7 separate regions of the Homo sapiens genome follow, and all the other regions are linked to region 1. The links are contacts of gene promoters, found by promoter capture Hi-C in blood cells and fetal thymus (Javierre and others, 2016). All regions are on one chromosome and are shown on one strand. Each heading gives the region's core, a stretch centred on a gene start or on the middle of the fragment in contact. The rest is flanking DNA. Distances are from core to core; before and after follow the strand shown.

What was found. Contacts are between HindIII fragments. The CHiCAGO score rates a contact against its expected background, and 5 or more counts as called.
Region 2: a fragment that was not itself captured here is called in contact with the fragment with the promoter of JAG1 in region 1 in 2 of 17 cell types (monocytes and M1 macrophages); the score reaches 7.6 in monocytes.
Region 3: a contact is called between a fragment that was not itself captured here and the fragment with the promoter of JAG1 in region 1, in 1 of 17 cell types (endothelial precursors). The highest score is 5.2, in endothelial precursors.
Region 4: a fragment that was not itself captured here is called in contact with the fragment with the promoter of JAG1 in region 1 in 4 of 17 cell types (endothelial precursors, M2 macrophages, M1 macrophages and 1 more); the score reaches 13.0 in endothelial precursors.
Region 5: a contact is called between a fragment that was not itself captured here and the fragment with the promoter of JAG1 in region 1, in 4 of 17 cell types (M2 macrophages, M1 macrophages, endothelial precursors and 1 more). The highest score is 15.9, in M2 macrophages.
Region 6: a fragment that was not itself captured here is called in contact with the fragment with the promoter of JAG1 in region 1 in 4 of 17 cell types (M1 macrophages, M0 macrophages, M2 macrophages and 1 more); the score reaches 6.7 in M1 macrophages.
Region 7: a fragment that was not itself captured here is called in contact with the fragment with the promoter of JAG1 in region 1 in 3 of 17 cell types (endothelial precursors, M1 macrophages and M0 macrophages); the score reaches 7.1 in endothelial precursors.

Annotation. Positions count from the first base shown.
Region 1 is chr20:10,672,512-10,675,337 of GRCh38, forward strand. JAG1 (jagged canonical Notch ligand 1) reads right to left here and starts at 1,488. Exons shown (of 26, transcript NM_000214.3): 1 at 939-1,488; 2 at 190-495. The coding sequence starts at 1,019. RefSeq lists a silencer at 1,711-2,110. The HindIII fragment of the contact is 5,598 bases long and covers 1-2,826 here.
Region 2 is chr20:9,981,304-9,984,129 of GRCh38, forward strand. No RefSeq gene overlaps it. Among named protein-coding and RNA genes, the nearest start is that of PARAL1, 3.6 kb to the right of the region's middle. The HindIII fragment of the contact is 2,010 bases long and covers 435-2,444 here.
Region 3 is chr20:11,304,089-11,306,914 of GRCh38, forward strand. No RefSeq gene overlaps it. Among named protein-coding and RNA genes, the nearest start is that of LINC02871, 280 kb to the left of the region's middle. The HindIII fragment of the contact is 254 bases long and covers 1,334-1,587 here.
Region 4 is chr20:11,282,701-11,285,526 of GRCh38, forward strand. No RefSeq gene overlaps it. Among named protein-coding and RNA genes, the nearest start is that of LINC02871, 260 kb to the left of the region's middle. The HindIII fragment of the contact is 2,677 bases long and covers 32-2,708 here.
Region 5 is chr20:11,263,494-11,266,319 of GRCh38, forward strand. LOC124904960 (a long non-coding RNA gene) reads left to right here and starts at 2,550. Exons shown (of 2, transcript XR_007067724.1): 1 at 2,550-2,639. The HindIII fragment of the contact is 2,680 bases long and covers 62-2,741 here.
Region 6 is chr20:11,245,606-11,248,431 of GRCh38, forward strand. No RefSeq gene overlaps it. Among named protein-coding and RNA genes, the nearest start is that of LINC02871, 220 kb to the left of the region's middle. The HindIII fragment of the contact is 2,357 bases long and covers 187-2,543 here.
Region 7 is chr20:11,223,792-11,226,617 of GRCh38, forward strand. No RefSeq gene overlaps it. Among named protein-coding and RNA genes, the nearest start is that of LINC02871, 200 kb to the left of the region's middle. The HindIII fragment of the contact is 3,439 bases long and covers 1-2,826 here.

The DNA.
Region 1 (2,826 bases), core at 238-2,737:
ACCTCGACTACCCCAGCCGAGATCTAACTATAGTGTCCCGGCTCCCTCACCCGCCACCCCTAGAGATTTCCCCAGTTAGCGCCTAGTTTCAAGCCAAAGCCCTTTAAATCCCTCTCGCAAGGGATAACAGGGCTCGGCCAGGCGCGGGTGTGAGGCTCCGCCCGGCCTCCTTCCCGAGTAGTCACTCACCGGCCAGGCGAAACTGAAAGGCAGCACGATGCGGTTGCGGTCGTTGCCGCGGCTGGCCTTGAGGTTGAAGGTGTTGCCCCCGATGACAGGCGTGGACCCTGAGCCGAAGCTGCAGGGCCCCCCGGCCGTGACGCGGGACTGATACTCCTTGAGGCACACTTTGAAGTATGTGTCACACTCGTCGCGGGTGCACTTGCGGTCTCCCGGGTTCCGGGCGCCGCCGCAGCAGTTCCCGTTCTGCAGCTCCCCGTTCACGTTCTGCATGGACAGGATCTCCAACTCGAACTGACCCGAGGCCCCACACACCTGCCGGCGAGGGAAGGAGGTAGGTCAGCGCGGGAGAAAGCTGTTTTCTTCGAGTATAGAGGTGGCGACTCCCTCCCACTCCCCGCCCCGACGAGCCCTCCTCGCCGAGTGAAAATAATTTTGCGAAACTACGTTCAAGGACTCAACATGATTCCGGGGCAAAAAAAAAAAAAAATGCACGAGTGCGGAAGAAATCCGACGACTTCCCGGGGGGCAACAGCGGAGCGAACGCGCCCCTGTCCGGCCTGGAGGGGTCACCCTCAGGAGGCAGGGGCTCCCGTGGGGGAGTTGGCGCGCTCAGCCCAGGTGCAGCCGCTCGGGCGCAGGGGCGAGGAGTCGGGCGCTCGAGGGCTGCCGAGCCTGCTCGCGGGGCTCAACCGCCCAGGGCGCCGCGAGGGGAGGGAGAGGACGGCTGGGAGGGAGGCCCGGAGAAGGGCTCCTACCTTGGCTCGCAGGGCACAGAGCAGGGCGAGCAGGAGGCTTAGGGGGCGCCCGGACCGGCCGCGCGTCCGTGGGGAACGCATCGCTGCGCCGCGCGCCGCGGGCACTCGGGACGCCGCCGCTGCTGTTCGCGCTGGTGCTGCCGCCGGTGCTGCCGTCGCCGCTGCCCCTGCGGCCGCCGCGTCCCGGCTCTAATATACTCCGCCGATTGGAGCATGCACGACTGGAAAACAACACCACTTTTCAAAAGCCCTTTCAAGAGCGGCCCGTTCCAGAAGGCAAAGAGCCCGGCCTCCTTTTATTATTCTGATCGCTTCTTTGAGACGCTCCCCCTCCTCTTCCACCTCCCGGCTTTCTTTCCTTCTCTCGCGCTCCCCTTCTTTTATTATTATGATTATGCGCAGCCTTTTATTCCCTTTTAGATCAGCTGCATGGAAAAAGGGGGGAGGGAGGGGAGAAAAAAAAAAACCAGCCTAGCTCGCGGGCCGGCCGCAGGTAACACAATGACGCGTGCCCGCCCGGCTCTCGGAGAAGGACCCGGAGAGCCCGTCTGGCAGCAGCGGCCGGGGCTGGCCACCTCTACCCAGCACGCCGGGCAGGGCGCATGCGCGCTTATTAATATTCATGAGAGGGCGTGCTCACCCTGGGCACGCCCCTCCCCTTCACGTTGCTGGGGAGGGGGTAGTGCGAGGAGGAACTTGGAAGGGGTTGGGGGCAGCGGGATGCTCAGGGCGGCGTAGAAGAACCAGGGCCCCACACCAACCCCCGCCCTCGGGAGCTTCGGGCCAGGAGGGAAGGGAGAGTGCGGGGAGGTACTTGGAAGGGATCGTTGCTCAGGGACGCCTGGAGGCCCCCAGCGGGGACCGCCCCCTCGGGCGCCCCGGGCCGTGCGCCTTTGCCCGCGCGTCGGGGCCCCAGGTGTAGGCGCCGCGGCGCTGACTGAGCGGTCGGAGCGGGGCAGCTTCCGCCTTCCGAACCGCCTGCGTCAGCTGCGGCTTTCGCCCCGGGAGGAGGGCCTGCCTGCCCGCCGGGAGTTCGGCCCGCTTCCCGCGAGCGAGCCGCCCAGAGCGCTCTGCTGGCGGCAGAGGCGGCGGCGAGGCTGGCGCGCTTGCCGCCGTCTGCTCGCCCCGCGGAGGCGACCTGGGCAGACGCTGCTGGGAACTTTGAAAAACTTTCCTGGAGCCAGGCTTGCCGCAGATTCGAGGGGAAGCCTCGGCCGCGTCCCACCCCCTCCCAAATCCGAGTCTGCGGAGCCTGGGAGGGCTCCCAGCTTCCTATCCAAACCGCGCCGGGGCAGAGGCGCGGGGAAACCGGGGGTAGAAGGCGGCGGGCACGCCGGGGCCCTGTTCAGGCTTTGGGAAGGGCCGGCGGAGATGCTGGTGGGCTTGGACGCCCTCCCCGGCCCGACGCCCCGGCCGCAGTGCCGGGATTGCACCTGTAGGCGGCCTCCGAGCAGCTCTCTGGGTGGCAAGAGATGGGCCTGGGAGGGACCGTGTCCCCAGCACCGCCAGCCGCGGAACTTGCCTTCTCTGGGGTGGCAGTGGAAACCGATACTGTTTTCCACCTTGAGGCAAGCCTCGCAATTAACAGCTACACTCCTGGTCATAATCAAGGTCGAAGAAAGCCCGTGGGCTGGCCGTAGCCTCTGCTAACCCCTCTCCCACGGGCTTGCTGTTGCATTTGAGGGGACCTTTATATGGAAACATCGACTTCCTTTGAAGGGTGGACAAAGTTTTGGCCCTAATAGTAGGTATGTCCTGCAGAAAAGCGTGACTATTCAGCGGCCGGTTTGGGGCTTGAGTTCTCCTGGGTGTGGGGCGTGATGGGCTGGCAATAGGTCAAGGGAAAATAGTTTCCAACATGCTGAGTTATGAGCATAAAAGGGTGGGT
Region 2 (2,826 bases), core at 190-2,689, 690 kb before region 1:
ACAGTAACCAGACACCCCCTACCTCCAAATCTTAGTAGCTTACAACAAGAAACAGTTTTCTTTCTTTCTCATTTTACATGTCAATCACAGATTGACTTAGGCTCTTTATCTCAAGCCCATGCGGGCTGAATGAGCAGCCCCTACCTGGGACCTACCAGGCCCCTGGCTGTGAGAAGAAAATGATGTGAAACCACAGAGTGGTTCTTAGAGCTTTTGCTCAGAACTGGCTTCTGACATTTCTGACCACATTTCATTGGCCAAAGCAAGCCTGATGTCAATGGGGAAGGAAAGTTTAATCCTTTATAAGGATGGAGAGTCCCCTAATATTGGGAATGATAATACAATGATCAGACTTACTGAATTACATTATATTAGGCATAAGGAGGCTCCTATCTGAATAAATTAATAGGGTGAAAATACAAGCAAGCTGTAGAAGCTTCAACTAACTCTATAAAAGAAATATTCAAGGAGTCTAAGCATTGAAACTCTTTTCTACTTTTCTCAGCAGTGGCACAGTGAAAAAAATTAAAAGTCATTTCAGGGCATGGTAGTTGACTTGAGAGGGCAGGAAACATAGCCCAGGGAGCTGCTGAGCCCAGAGTGGAATTGCTCCTCCTTCAGCAGCTATAAAGCATGGGCCAGGTCGTACAGCTCCTTATTTAGTAACATTGGCAAAAATCCAGGCTTCATTTATAAGTCACTGCATTGCAGTTCTTTTGGAGTACGTTACCAGGACTTCATAAAGATTGATTGAGTTCTGGGAAGCCATTGGGTTGAAAGTCCAGATGTACATAAATCAAGTTATAGCATCATTTAATTCACAATGTATCTGCCCAAGTCATTTTGGGGTGGAAGTGAAAAGATTTATAGTAAGTCTTATGGGATTTGATGATCTGAAAAGTAAGAGATATTAAATGGGTGATTTAGCTGCAAGAGTTAACTGCAGTAGTTTAAAATTGACTCAAGTCTTCATTGCTACTGGTTTAAAATGCATCTTAAATAATTGGAAGTATATTTTGGGAGCTCTTTAGGGTGAAGAGTTAAACGTGATTTTTGGCAGTCAAAAATAAGATCTGATTTATATTCAGAAAAAACTCATCCATCAATAAAATATATGTCAGCAAACTACTTTATATCTTAAAGCACTGTTCTCTACCACACTTAGTTCAGATCTAAAAACTTTTACATAAATCTGTTCTATGATAAGAACCCAAAGTTCTTGAACTTGATAAAAAGAATTTCTGTGATCCTTTTAGTCTTGAGCCACAAATCAATCTACAATTGAAATCACACTTGCTTTTATGTGGAAGGACATGAAAAGCCACAATCCCAATTCATGCCCTCATGGTCTCTCACTAGCCAGGCACCTGGAGATCCAAATCTGTAGAGTAGGTGAAGTTTGCTATAATCTTCTCTGAGCCCAACTGTTCTGTATTGCTTTCTTTTTTTTGAATTCTTTTTTTTTTTTTTCAATGACAGCCTCCCTCTGTCTCCCAGGATAGAGTGCAGTGAGGACTCCAGTGATCTTCCCACCTCAGCCTCCGGAGTAGCTGGGACTACAAGCATGAGCCACCATGCCCGGCTTATTTTTTTATTTTTTATAGAGACCAGGATCTCACTATGTTTCCCAGGCTGGTCTCAAACTCCTGGAATCAAGTGATTCTCCAGCTTTGGCATCCCGAAGTGGTGGGACTACAGGCTCCTGACACCGGGCCTGGCCTTCAATTTCATGATGTTTCTTAATGCCTCAATTCCCCTTTCCTCTTTTCCTATCTTTTAATCTTTTCTATCTTTCCTTTCAAAATCTATTCTTTAAAAGAAGTTATTTTTAATTAAAATTTACCATCAGGTACCTTAAAGGCTGAGGAAATTTAATCTATTAGCATAGGCAATTGTATGCAAGTATCAGTAGAAAACAAAGTTTTGGCCAAAGGAAGGATGATCTAAAGGGAAATTAAGACAACTGAAAGTGAAAGTGGGATATATTCCTCTCTTTTTAAAATCACACAGTGGAGCATATTTAAAAACAAGTATTCAAAAGGACAGTTGATTAATACGGATGTTACATTTCTGTCTGCTCCTCTGACAATTTTACAGGCATTTTTGATGGAACAAATTCTTAAAGGAACAGAGTTTTCTCCCTCATAATGAAGAGTACTTCATTATGAAAGACTGAACTCAATATTTTTTCCAATTAATACTAATATTTATTTAGTTTTACTTAATGTTCCTGAGAAATGTTGACTCTACATTTGATTTTATTAAATGTTGCATGTGAATTTACTTTCCTTCAATCTTTAAAAATTGCAGTTAGAAAAATCTAGATTCTTTCCCTGCCTTTGTTACTTCTCTAGAAGTACTGTGAAATTAGGGAGTTGAATTTGAGGTAATACTTGAGGGTGTTCAATTCTGAAATTCTCCATTGGTTCTTTTAGTTGAGGACAAGCTTCTTTAGTGAGAAAAATTACTGCCAAATTTATCTCTTTGTTAAATTGGAGCATGTGTGTATTACTTAAGCATAAAGCTAAGTACACTGTATTAACCATTGCAATGCCATTTTCTACTGGCTATTAAAAATTATTATTTAATGTAATATGTGGAAAACTACCCAGTGATTTCTAAAACTGGATCTTAAGTTTAAAAAATGCACTATTGATTACTATAATACATTTTAAAATCTAAATTTAATATCTAAAATGTAGAGTATAATACATTTCATATCTAAAATATAATTACAATTATCTACACTTCCTTTTCATTCTTTTCCTATAGGTGTGTTGTTTTTACATTTTGTCTAAATTACTCTTCTCATTTCATTTGTTTGAT
Region 3 (2,826 bases), core at 211-2,710, 630 kb after region 1:
TCTTGACGGCTTTTGTACAAACATCAGTTGTTTCTTATATTATAATTATCATCCTAATCGTTATAATGTCTAGGCCAACTGTACTACTGAATTAATATTCTAAGACTCAGGAATAGCTGATGCAATCAAATGAAGATGGGTGAAAAATAAAAATGGCACACATTTCCTAAAAACCATGTGTTATTAACTGAACTAAATTAATTATGCCCTACTTTAGGTTATTTGGGTAGATGGTGGCAGCCACTAAAAAGAGTTCGAGGTAAGTGAGTGTTAGTTACTCTCCCACAACTTCACTGCCAGGCTATATAATAAAATCAGGCCTTAAACCAAATTTCATCACACATGTGGACATTAATTTATAAAAGCAGTTCATAAAACTTGTCTATAAATTTGATGACATTCCAGCTCTCTGTTCTTGTAGGTGCCCCAACCACTACTTGCATGTTAGTTCATTTCAGGGAGACATAACATTCCAGAGATCTTTTCTTCTGGAATTGGGCTCAGGTATCCTCTAAAACTAATGGCTGGATACAGCATCACTTAGCAACTGAGCCCTCTATTTATACTCAATGAATTCAAATTCTCTGTTTATGTATGATTGGGAATGTATCTAATATATCTATAGTCTTCAATTTTGCCCATTTCTGGTACTCACCTTGCTTGTCAACAAGCCACTTGCTTTCACCAATATTTCTCACATTCAGTTTACTGACTAGAAAAGCCACGATCAAGATAGAGGTAAGAGATGAGCTTGTGGCAGCTGCCCCTGCAGTCTGGCACTCTGTGATTAGTGCCAACCCAGCACCCCTGGGATCTGCATTTTTGATTAGGATAATTGACTATCACTAGAGATAAAACTGAAACTAACTGACAAGCACATAATATCACACTGAAAATGCTGATGCACTTTGACACATCTCATGGGTATGGTAATGCCATGTCACTTGGGAATTAGATCTTCATTCGTACTGTCTCCAAACATCATTCAGAGCTCTCCTTGGAGCTCTTTATCATACCACTAACTATTTTCATGGTGACATGTTCGATAATGTGGCATAGAAATACATATTCCATGCTTGATGCAACCTCAAAATTCAAATTTTAAAAAGCCATTTCAGTTTTAGACATACCTCTGTAAGGTGTGGATGTTAGGCTAGATTTCTATGCAAAGAAAGGTAACAAGAATTGGGGGTACATTAATTTCCAGATATCTTGATAACCTGGCAGAGGTCCTAGCTGCAGAGTTAACTTCTTCCCTGGCAAGAAGGAAGGTATTTTATGAGACTGATTGGGTTGGATCTTGCTGTAGCTCATTGCCTGGGAGGAAACAGAAAGCTTTGTGTCTCTCAGGTATACACCCTTCAACAGTCAAACTCCTTTTCTGACCCATGGAGATGTGGTAACTTGCAGCAGCTCTAAACCAGGATTATGACTCCCACGCTGACATTAGCAATTGATTGAAATGCGGTTTCAGGCTAGGGCAGGAGGAAATAGCACAGAACAATACAGCCAAGTTCATTGTGCTAACTGCACTGCAGCTCCCTGAGAAGCAGGTGTGAGCTGAATAGAAAGGATATTATTGGCTCAAGCTTCCTCTGGGTGGTGTAGAAAGGAGAGCATGTGGTATATCTATCAACCTCACCTGACTCATAACTGATTTCCCCCATTTTTTTCTCAAATTCAGTCCTCTTCCCTCTCCTTTCTCTCTCTGTCTCTCTCTGTCTCTCCCTCTCTCTCTCGTTTTACCTGTCTGATTGGCAGTTGTTCAGATTTCCATAGAAAAACATTGGGGAAATAGTGCTCCAGAATCCAAACAAATGTAGCTCCCATCTCAAAACACAAAGCGGGAAGAATTGACTCATAGGCAGTGCCGAAGTTGGGAAGTAGAAGGAGAAAGGAAAGAATGAAAAACTTTTGTGGGCTTGTTCTCTGCCAACCCAAATGTAGACGCTTTATATTTGTTAATACATGTGTCTCACAAAATCCCTGGTGGTTAGGGATCAGTATCACAATTCAATAGGTGAAAAAAAAACTGAAGATCAAGGTATTTAAGTAACTTACCTATAGTGCCCAGGTGGTAAATGATGGAAATGGGATTCAAGACCAAGTTCCTTCATTCAAGCAAGCGGCTCCATCATCCTCTTCCTTTTCATCACCTGCTCTTGTGACAGCAACTGTGCTTGATTTGCTTTATTCATTCAGCTAATATTTATTAGGCAAAAGTTATACGACAGACACTGCATGGTAGGGACTGAAGAGTTGCTGGTGCATTTTCTATTAAACACTCATTTCCTTTCGTTTTGCTTTGGAGAGCCTCTTTTCCTGAAACCCTGGTTCATGTGGATTGAGTGGGCCTAATTCTTTTTTTTTTTTAAGATGGAGTCTCACTCTATCGCCCAGGCTGGAGTGCAGTGGCGCCATCTCAGCTGAGTGGGCCTAATTCTGTCCTGTGGATCTGGAGGCAGTCAACATTCCTGGCCACATAAATTGGTTCAGTGATATGGATGTGAACCAATCCATATCATTGAGTATTAGGCAAGGAACTTTTTCTTTTTCTCTGAAACTATTAGAAAAGAAAAGCATTTTTTGTTAGGATAGCTAAGGTGATGGAACTTAAACCTAGACTGCTGCTAGCCATCTTTCTGAAACATGGCAAGGGATTTCTTGAGAATGAAGTGCAGATGGGAAAAGTGCAGAGCCAAGAGATGAGGAGAAAGCACCATTTGGGTGCCTTAATCCTGACTAACCTGAACCTGGGACTTGAATCCCTGAGGCTTTTCAGTTATAAGAGTTCTTTTTTTTTTTTTTTTCTAGCTTAAGTTGGTT
Region 4 (2,826 bases), core at 120-2,619, 610 kb after region 1:
AATAAACAAATAGAACTGCATCAAACCAAAAAGCTTCTCCACAACAAAGGAAGCAATTAGCAGAGTAACAAAATGATCTACAAAATGGGAGAAAATATTTGTAAAATACACATAGGATAAGGGTTCATCTTCAAAATATAGGGGGAACACAAACAATTTAATACCAAGAAAACAACCCAATTAAAAGATGGAAAAAGGACCTGAATAGATATTTCTTAGAAGAAGACAAGCAAATGGCCAACAGGTATATGAAAAAGAGTGCAATATGATTTAATAGTCATCAGAGAAATTCAGATTAAATGCACAGTGAGATATGACTTTACACTGTTAGAAGGGCTATGATCAAAAAGACAAAAAATAGGCTGGGTGCAGTGGCTCATGCCTGTAATCCCAGCACTTTGGGAGGCCAAGGCAGGTGGATCACCTGAGATCAGGAATCTGAGATCAGCCTGGCCAACATGGCAAAACCCCATCTCTACTAAAAATACAAAAATTAGCCAGGCGAGGTGGTACACATCTGTAATCCCAACTACTCCAGAGGCTGAGACAGGAGGATGGCTTGAACATGGGAGGTAGAGGCTGCAGTGAGCCGAGATCGTGCCAACACACTCCAGCCTGGGCAACAGTGTGGAGAAAAGGGAACCCTTGCACATTGTTGGTGGGAATCTAAATTAGTACAACTGTTATGGAAAACAGTATGGCAGTTTCTCAAAAAATTAAAAATAGAACTACCATATGATCCAGCAATCCAATTCTGGGTGTATATCCAACACAAATGAAATCGTTATGTTGAGGAAATACCTGCTCTCCCATGTTCATTGCAGCATTATTTGCAATAACCAAGATGACAATTCAATCTAAGTGTTCACTGAGAGACAAGTGAATAGATTCATGCAGTGGATAATATTATTCAACCTTTAAAGAGAAGGAAATTCTGACATTTGTGACAACATGGATAAACATGGAGAACACTATTAACAAAAGATGCCAGGCACAGAAAGCCAAATACTGCTTAATCTCACATGTGGAATTTTTAAAAGTTGAAGAGTAGAACGATGGTTGCCAGGGGCTGGAGGAGGGATGGGGTCAAATGTTGGTCGAAGGGTACAAAATTTTAGTTATGCAGCATAAATAAGTTCTGGAGATCTATTGCACAGCATGGTGACTATAGTTAATAATAATGTAATGATAATGTATAAAATATTATGTACTTGAAAATTGCCAAGATAGTACAGCTAAATGTTCTCACCACTCACACAAAGATAACTATGTGAGGTGACATGATAGATATGTTAATCAGGTGATAGATTAATAGATTGATGGTGGCAATCATTTTGCAATGTATAATGTGTCAAAACTATCACATTGTACACTGTAAATATATGCAATTCTTATTCATCAATTATACCTGAAAAATGTGGAAAAAATAAATTAAAGAGTAGAAAGCAATGAAGTAAAGATCATTCATTACTTTAATGTTGCCATATGTGAAGATGAGGCTGAAGTTTCACACCGCGTGGGGCAGACATGAAACATTTGTACCCACATTTTTGGTATACAATCAGGAAGTGCGAAAAACAGAAGGGGGGATTGTGTAGATATTTCGGACATATGTCATCTACATAAACTATTGTTTTATTCAAATTAATTTAAACTAGCAGCATTTCTATCAATTTCCTTAAAACAATTCAAAATTCACTTTCTTGAGTAGCCTTTCTGTATTGCATTAATTCAAAGTTCATGATGCCCTCAATTTCATCTTTGATGTCTGATGTCATTATAACTGTACAGTAATAGGATTAATTATATCAACAGGCATACCTACATAAAAGTTTTCCCCTTCATATCTGGTGTCTTAAGAGGCTTTCCCGGTCATCTTACAATGCACTGAATCATTCATCGAAGAGTCTGGGGGATTCTAGTTAGCATATTTCATGCATGTATTTGACTTCCTTTAATGGTAGAAACTATGAGTTGATATATTACTAACAATTACAATCCATTCAGGGTCAAATCCAATGAATACAATAAATCAGCAACCCGTGGATATACCTGAATTTATAAATAAATATGACTTGATTTCTAGGACATAATAGATAATTTAATATAGCAATCTAATTTCACTTTATTTGAAAACCCTACAAAAAGCCTAAAAATGTATTTAATTTAAGATCAAATTTGCTCAAAAAGGAGAACAAAATTTATTCTATCCTATCTATCTAGCCACTACAAAATAAATTCACTCAGGAAAAATATTACTTTGGAATGCAATGTTAGATAGTTGGAGAAAGTGCCTTCACTTTTTAGATTAAGTGTAAAATTTTATATTAAGAGAGAAGCAAAATGAAGTTACACACAGGGAAGGTAAACGATTTTAAATCAATGTTTTTAGCCTTTAGTCACTGGTTTTGGAGATGTGTCCAGACTGTTTTTCTAAGATGTTTGAAACAGAGTTTGATATGTTAAATTTAAGAACAATGTATCTCAATCAATATTTAGAACTCTGGGGAACAAATTTGTTCAATTTATAATACTTTTACTCTTTATATTGTATGTCAATGAATAGAGAAATGAAACTTTGTCCTCAATTAACAAATTAGATATTGAAAACACATCATACTGATAATAATGATGTTAAAATATTGCCTTGAAATGATGTCATAGATTTTAATATAATAGTAATGCCAACAATTATAGTGATGAAAATAAGCTTAAAGTATTTGCTCATTTCCTTTGCAGCAGGCAAATGGGTCATGAATCCCCAAAACATCTTAAGCAGCAATAACATATCTGTAATGGGAGCAGAAGCTCCAAAACAACCTGTTT
Region 5 (2,826 bases), core at 152-2,651, 590 kb after region 1:
GGTTTCATCTCCTACCCCTCTTCCTCCTTGCTCAGCAGCCTGCAGCTTGCCCTCTATAACAAGCTTGGCATGCTCCCACCTCAGAACCTCTGCCTTGGCCTTGCTCTTTGTCTAGAGTGCTCCTCCCACATGTATGCACATGGCTTCACATTCACACTCACTAATTCAAGCTCTGCCCAGAAGTCAACTTAGTGAAGCCTCCCCTGACCACCCTAGTGTATCCTTCAAACACATTAAATAATTCATTTATCAGTCAGGTGCAGTGGCTCCCGCCTGTAATCCCAGCACTTTGGGAGGCCGAGGTGGGCTGATGACCTGAGGTCGGGTGTTTCAGACCAACCTGGCCAACATGGTGAAACCCCATCTCTACTAAAAATACAAAAAATTAACTGGGCATAGTGGCGCATGCCTATGATCCCAGCTACTTGGGAGGCTGAGGCAGGAGAATCGCTTGAACCCGGGAGGCAGAGGTTGCGGTGAGCCGAGATCACGCCATTGCACTCCAGCCTGGGCAACAAGTGCAAAACTCTGTCTCAAAAATAAAATAAAATAAAATAAAATAATTCATTTATCATGTTTACATTTTATTGCGTGTCTTTTCTGTATAAGTTCTTTGAGGTGAGAAATCTTTGGCTGTTGTATTCTCTGAATATGTACAGCGGTGTCTGAGATATAGTAAACGCTCAATTAATATCTGCTGAATAAATAAATGATCATAGATGATAGCAGTGCAATTTGAGGTATATATTTCTGTTCTTTGTTAGTTAATTTGTCAGTCAGTACATCTCAAGTTTTAGACATTCTCCTAACTTGGGAATGAATAATCAAAAAGAAAAAATAACTAATTTGGAAAACAGGGAAAATGTATCTTTAAAGAGTAAGGAGACAATACTTTAAAAATAAATCAATCTATAACAGGAAATAGACTATATTTTAAAATACCTAGTCTGCAGGTAAATGATTATTTTAGTAAAAGCATTTACAGATTACTTCGCTTCTCTTTAAAGGTAACACCATATATTAATTCAGCAACCATATAAATATTAATTGAGTACTTTCTGTGTGCCAGGCACATGATGTTAGTGATGAGCCAGTGGCGCTTACATTGTCATGGAAAGACTAACAAAAACCAGCCAAACGAGTACATATAATGTCAGTTGGTGCTGACAGCTATAAAGAGAAACAATTAAAGTAAGCAATAATAAATTAAAGGGGTGCTGGGATGGTTAGCAAAGGCCTGTCTGAGATGGTGACATTTGCACAAAAGCATGAGTTAGGTTAGGTAAGAGTGCACCTTCAATAAAAAGAGTGCACCAGATAGAGGAAACAGCCAATGCAAAATTCTGCAGCAGGAATATGTCACCACGTTCAAAGAAAGGCAAGGTGTGATGAGGAAAATGAGAAGAAATGATATTGGAGTAGCCTTCAGGAATCAAGTCACCCTAAGGCCTTGTGGTTATAGGACTTACAGCTTTATTCTTGGAGCCAAGGTTGAACTGACATGATCAGTTCTGCATATGTGTGACATGATCTGGTATACACTTCAGGACTATTTTGACATTGGGGGGTAAGAGTATAAGCAAAGCAATAGGATGCATGGTATATGGAAGCCAGAAAGAAATCTGAGGCTATTCTCAATCTGGAAAGCAGCAATGAGCCACAAGAAAAAAGAGCTAAGTTGATTCAGCCCTATCTTGGAAAGATCAGACTCCAGATAGAAGTTTGCCTTCATCCTGGGGGCTGCTCTGTATGATGGTCAAGCTGGCATGTGTCTAGGGAGTGAACCAGACAGTAAGAAGAATGTACCTCTTGGAGTGAGGAACTCTCTGCTGTGTTGTGGATTCTGTCTCCACAAAAGCAGGATCCAAAAATATCTTGAGACATACTCTGGTTCAGGATGTAATGTCAGGATGCTCCACCAGGTTCCCAAAGTTACCTAAAACAGAGGGTCTTAATTGAGTTTGCTCCTTTCTTTGATTGGGGTTCCCAAAAGCCATCCCTGAGATAATATTAATATATTGGGGGAAGTAGAAGAAAATCAGAGATGGGAGAGGGAAAGGGAGAGAGAGAAAGGAAGGCAGCCCAGAAAGGATGTTTCACAAAATCAGCTACTGCTGTGAGCAAGTGGAACCTAGACTTGCTGGAGACTGCTGGAAAATGGGGTGAAGCACCTTTATCCTATCCAAGTGGCAAGGAAACCGGGTGTATATGCAAGACTCCTAGCAATCATTCATCTGGCCTGCCATGAGTGGCTAACCTAGACTTAGATACCAGAGACTGTCCTTAGGCAAAGAGTAAGTTGGGCTGCTCTGCCCTGAAGGAGTAAGGCAGGAACGAGTAAGGAGTAAGAGATGTAGAGATGGTACCCACAGTATCTGCTGCAACCACCCCTCAGGGAAATTGCTGTTCACTCAGGCTACCATACAAATAGCACCCCTTGGGGTTTTGCAACATGCATCTTGTTCATTCTCCCCCTTCTTGTCCCCCGCTCCAGTCCCATCTCTATGATATTTGTTGTGCAGGATGAATTCACGCTTCTCAACATCTAAGCCTTCGGCACACCCTTTGGTGGAATTCAAAGTTTCTGCGGAGCAGAGAGCAGTAATTAACAGTGAGACCTTATGATGAGCAAATCACAGGTCAGTAATAACTCAGTTCTTGGGGAATTCAGTCATGGGGAAGCAACAACTCATAGCTCAAAGTCAGATTCCCTTCTATTTGTAACAATTTCTGGGTGAAGAAGCTTAAGAAGCTAGTCGCATTTTTCCCGGATACTGGCAGCCATTGTTTCTCTCTTTTTCTTTCTCCATTAAATAGTACATCCGG
Region 6 (2,826 bases), core at 115-2,614, 570 kb after region 1:
TACTAAAGTTAGGAAATAACTTTTAGGGATGACCTTCAAGACAATAACCACTTGTTGGAAGTGGAAGTCATGAGCTTGTCCAGTGGTACAGAACATTTTTCTCTCATTGAGAGTTTTGAAAATCTGTTGCCTTTATGTACAATAGAGATTATAGGTACAATAGAGAGAAGAATGGCATGCATCTCAAGCTTCAATCTCAAGAATTTATCTGGCATTAGTGAGCAGTACAATCTTATCTTCTCTTTAATTTTGTCTTTTTTGAACTAACTTCTCTCATTGTTTGATAAATTATATGGTTTGATTGTGTATGTCACATGAAAATATATTTGAAAGATATTTAGATTCCTCTTTGGAATTAAGTAAAAGAAGCATTTGGCTATAAACATGTGGTAACTGGGTCTGAGGTCATGTACATACATTCTTTTCTAGTTGCAGCCAAAATCAGGTTTGGGGGTTTCTGATGAGCTCTTTTGTGGTTATTGTTATTAAAGAAAAATGGATCTTTCTGCTGCATGCTTAGAAAACCAGATATTATCACCACTTGATTATTTACTTACTGGTACAGCTTGTTTCACTTATTAAAGAAAAGACAAGGTTGAAATTGGATCTATTCAATGCATGTTCGTGGCTTTATGTGTCTGTAGATAATAAGCAGCCTTGGGTGTTTGTTCAGGGTTGACTTTCTAGGCTATAATTGGCATCATTTTGATTTTTCTTTGGATGAGCCCACATCGTTATGGAGTCTGTAGCTTTAAATAAGAAAACACCTACAAAAATGAGAGGGGCAAAATGTTCCCTTTGGAAGCAGTAGGGGAGGGGGCAGGAAGGGGAGGCTTTTGTTCACTCATGGAAAATGGACGTGTGTCTCATGGTAGCCGCAGTTTAAGTAAACATAAACTCTGAACCAGAGATCATACCCGCCATTTCCTCAGCACTAGCAATACCAAACCAAAATATAGTTTTATTTGGCTAACCCCAAAGTAGGATGTGGGTGCCAGCCTTGAAAACCACATGATCGGGTTTCCAGCAGACACCACCAGGGCTATGCTTTTGTCTTAAGCAAGAAAGTCACAAAGGCAATACTCCTTGTAGTACCATCATTATGTTTAGCAAACAGATGCAACCATAACAACAGTTAACTTCAGAGACAACAGTTCACTACAGAAAAAGGTCAAGAGGGTCTTTTACTCTTCATGCGTAGAATCTGAGCTATCCCATATTACAACTCTATTGAGAGAAGAGGCATTAAAAGAGAGACAATGAGAACCTAGGGCATAGGCTCAGGTAGTGGGGCTGGGTGGGGAAAGAATCCTCCCATCTTCTTATGAGTTCTAGAGTCGGCCAATCTGGAATCCATGTTTAGAAGCATCACCTTGACTTCTGTGGAAAGTCGTTTTTTCCAAACAGTAATCCAGCAATGAGCAAAGCATTAAATTGTGATTTTGACATGTCCTCATTTTGTCTTTTCTCTTATAAAGAAGATTCTTCAGGGCCCAGGGTCATTCCAGTCATCCCAAGTTCGGTAAGCATCCAGTCAGGGCTTGCTGTTTCAGAGGTTTTCATGGTGTGGTTTCATTTATTTATTTACCATGAAGCTGTTGTTTTTCTCCCTTCTCTGGAGCCAGGGAGGGAGGGGCAGATGATAGAGTTGGGTGCCCTGAGTTAATGACTAGCCCTATATTCACAAGCTCATTTACTTTTGTCCTCACCTGGCGCCTCAATGCTGCCAATGAGTGGGAATTAATTTTATTGAGGGCCACTCAGTTCCTTAAAAGAAAACTGCTCACTTGGCTGGAAATGCTTTGACAGAAGGTAGAGCAGCCGGTCACATTTGAACACTGTGTCTTCTAGATTTGGGGGCAGAGGGGGAGTGGCAGATTCAGAGGGAGAGGGGACCAAGCAGTCATTTCACATGAGCTATTATGGGGTGGCCGGAATCCCAGCAGAGTCCATCAACAGACTCTCGTGCTAAAGACACAGCCTGTTGTCTCTTTATCTGCCACTCCCCACTAAATCTGTGCATGACCCCCCAGCACCCTTCTCAACAATCAGCTGCCCGTAAGAAGGTAATCATCTTATGGTGAATTGGAGAAGAAGAAAAGACACTCTAGGAAAATGTTATGATAATAGAAAACTCTTCAGTGTTGTAACCATCTGGTGTGCTACGGTGACAAAGAAGCCGATAATTGAGTGCCCAATAACTTCTTTTGGCCTGAGATAATGGGCACTCACCCTGATTTGTGTTCTTCACAAGAGTAATTCGCCATCATTTCACACCACATCTGCACCCCATTTCCTCCATCAATACAGCCTTACACATAAGTTACCACACTTAATTAAGTCCACATCATTCTCCTCCAAAGAACAGAAAAGTTTGAGCAGATCCCCGAGTGGCCGAGAGGCACAAATGAGGTTTTAGTGACTCTTGTTTGGTGGGAGAAATGGAGATTGATGAAGAGCTCATGCCACCAAGGTTTGGCTCCCGGGTGGGGCAGGGTAGGGCTGCGTCTCCACAGCTCTTGGCTGGGCAACAGCTGTGGATAAGCTTAGGCAGGCAGCCCTGTGGCCAGGCATGCTAGGGGAGGGGATGCAGACCCCATTGTCACATAATCTTGCTTTTGAAATTGTGCTACAATTCATTCCATTTGATTTCTAAGGTGCTGTCACCAGAGCATCATTAAAAGTCCTTTAAGAAACTGGAGAATAGACTAGATCACCAAAGGCGGCTTTGTCAGCCCCTTCTCTCTTTCTTTAGTGTGTGTTCCCTTCCAGCTGACAGAAAAGGCAAAGCCTGTAAGCTCAGGACAATTAACAAGGATAATTTCA
Region 7 (2,826 bases), core at 227-2,726, 550 kb after region 1:
TAAGTGATGCTATTCATAGTATCGATTTTGAACTTTATTCTGCTTTTTTTTTAAAAAAATGGAAAGATGGTTAAAGGTTAATTTCAAAATAAAGGTAGATGCAATTGTGGGTAGATGAGGGAATCACGTCCTAGGCATGATTAGTAGGCACAGGAAGAGTTCCTAGAAAGATAGGGAAGAGAGATGAAGGGACTTTGAAAGACATTTCCTAGATATCTTCTGTTCTGCTTTTTAAATTCATCTCCTCACCTAGCTGTGTTATTTAATTTCTTACATACGATTCCACTAGGCCTCAGCTCTGGGAAAGAAGTTATCCATTAAAACCCAGTGATTAATTGATTCAGTGTCCAAGATTGCTGTCTGTCTGGGCCAGCCAGATTTTATATTGATGAAGACTTTAATTCCAAATTACATCTGCACAACACAGTGTTCTCAGAAAAAGAAGGTAACATCCAAAGTGAATGCACCTTCCAGGTGCAACTGCATTTGAAGATAGCGGGATCAAGGCTTCTATCTTTATTGGAATCAAGTTAATTCAAAATACTATCAAATCTCAGGGCTCAATCAATAATAGCTACTTTACTCCCGGGAGACAGGTTTCAATTAACCTTCAAGGAAGCTCACTTTGGTTTTTGTTCTGTGTTTATTTATTTTTTTCTATTCTCTTCCATATTATTAGTTAGGAGTAATGATCTCCCTTTTTCCATATGGGTAGAAAGGGGCTCTTGGCTGTACTCACAGTCAGTGATAAGAGGAGGAGTCAATAATAGCTCAGTAGTGGACCATGTAAGGAGACACTTTGAGATCCGGCATTGTCCTGATATAAGTGAAGATCTTTATTCAAGTACTGATTTTACCTTTCAGGAATCTCCTCTCTCTCTCCACCCTCCCCTAGAAGTCCAGTACATTTATATTGCCGCTGAATTCCGAGCTTTCTACCTGATATAGTGTTTCAAGGTCATCCCCCAAATAATAGACCAATTGTTTCCTCATCTGTCCTCTTTACCATCCCAACACATGCCCAGACATCCATGTGCTGCCCCAAATTAAAGCTATTATTCAACAATTGCTTGGGAAGGATTTGGGCAACTAATTTCGTAAAGAGTACTCATGGCTTAGTCTGACAGGGATTTGCATTGCATAAAAAAAAAATATGTGACATTTAAGACATACAGGAGAGGCTACGGTGGAAGGGATTTTGCATGTGGAAAGTGTTGAGTGATAAGAATTGATCAAAAATGAAATTTAGAGTGGGCGTCTATTGTGTCGTATCAAAGAAAAGGTATTATATGTAGTTAGAAGGCAGAAAGAAGTGGCATTAGGAAACTCTGAAGAAATGCTGTCAGACTTTGTGGAGACAGAGGGCACCCACAAAAGAAGAAAAAGGAAGCAGAACTGAGGACTACTTTGCATTTGTTTAGACACAATTGTAAAGGGTGCCAAGAACATGGTGTGAATCTGAACAAACAGAGTGGGGTGCCCAAGTCAGTGATGAACTGGATGCACCTTCACTGATGATAATGATGATAATGGCTGGAGAATGAGAGAACCACAGGCAGAGGAAAGAAGCAGCAATCAGAGGTGCTGTGACCAGCCTGGAGGTTGGTGGGGAACTCACAACCCCATGGCTCTCCACAAATAATTCTTTTCACTGGTCGCTCCCTTTCTACTCCCTGATTCATCTCATCTCTTTCATGAAAGTGAGGGGTCCCATGATGTGAAACGATCTCTTGTAGCCATTTCTTTTGAAACTCTGCACATTCAAGTTTGGCTTCTAACTAACCAGCCTCTGAGCACCTTCGTGGCTTTGCCACCAAGCAGCTTTTCAGCCACCAGAGGGATTTCATCTACTTAGGCCTTGTCTAATCTACAAATAAGGGTAGACTAATATAACGCAGGAAGGTTAGACTTCCTTCACCATAAAATATGTGATGAGTTTCACAGGTTCTGATGTTTAAAAATAAAAATACTTGAGAGATATTTGAAAACCAAAGATCTGGAGCAACCAAAACAAACCTTTAGGTGGTCCCAGTCATTCTGCTTCTGTTAATGAAATTGTTCTTGGCCATAAATAATTTCTGATTTATTGAAGATCTCTTTCCTATAATAATCAGGCTGAACCCTCATCTCTTGATATGTTGCTGCTATGATGGCATAGAAAGGACCAGAAGTATCAGCCAAAGGGAGAGAGAAATGATGTCCATGATAAAGGTTTTATCTTGATTTTACAATAAGTTTGTGGGGGAAGGAAAGAGGTTTCAGTTCACACTAGCAAGCAGTAATAGTAAATGGTAACCTTTTAACATAGCACTTACAATGTGCCAAGCACCAGGCATACAAGAATTCATTCCATTCTCACAGCAAATTCTATAAAATAGGTATTAGAGCCCCATTTTACAGATAAGGAGACTGAAGCACAGAGTAGTCAAGTAGGTTGACCAAGATTATGCAACTATTAAGAGATAAACCTAGGATTTAAAACCAGGAATCTGTGACTTGATTCAATGGGCATAAGATGATGGTAGGATCATTCACTTTTAAATGTCTTGGTAAATATATTATTAGGACAGAGAAATTTCTCCTGCATGTCAGTTCCCTTAAGATCAGGCTACTAAACATTCAGATTACATTCCCAAACGACACTGCAGAAGATCTGGATTGCTAATTAATCTAAGAGTTGGCACTGTATGGGAAACTAATAAAAAGAGTTCTGGTAAATTCTGTTTTACTTTTTCTGATCTTGTAATTACTCTGGCATGAGAAGTGCCTATAGAAAAAACTATTTTAGAAATCACTAATATATTACATTTAGTATTACTTTTAACT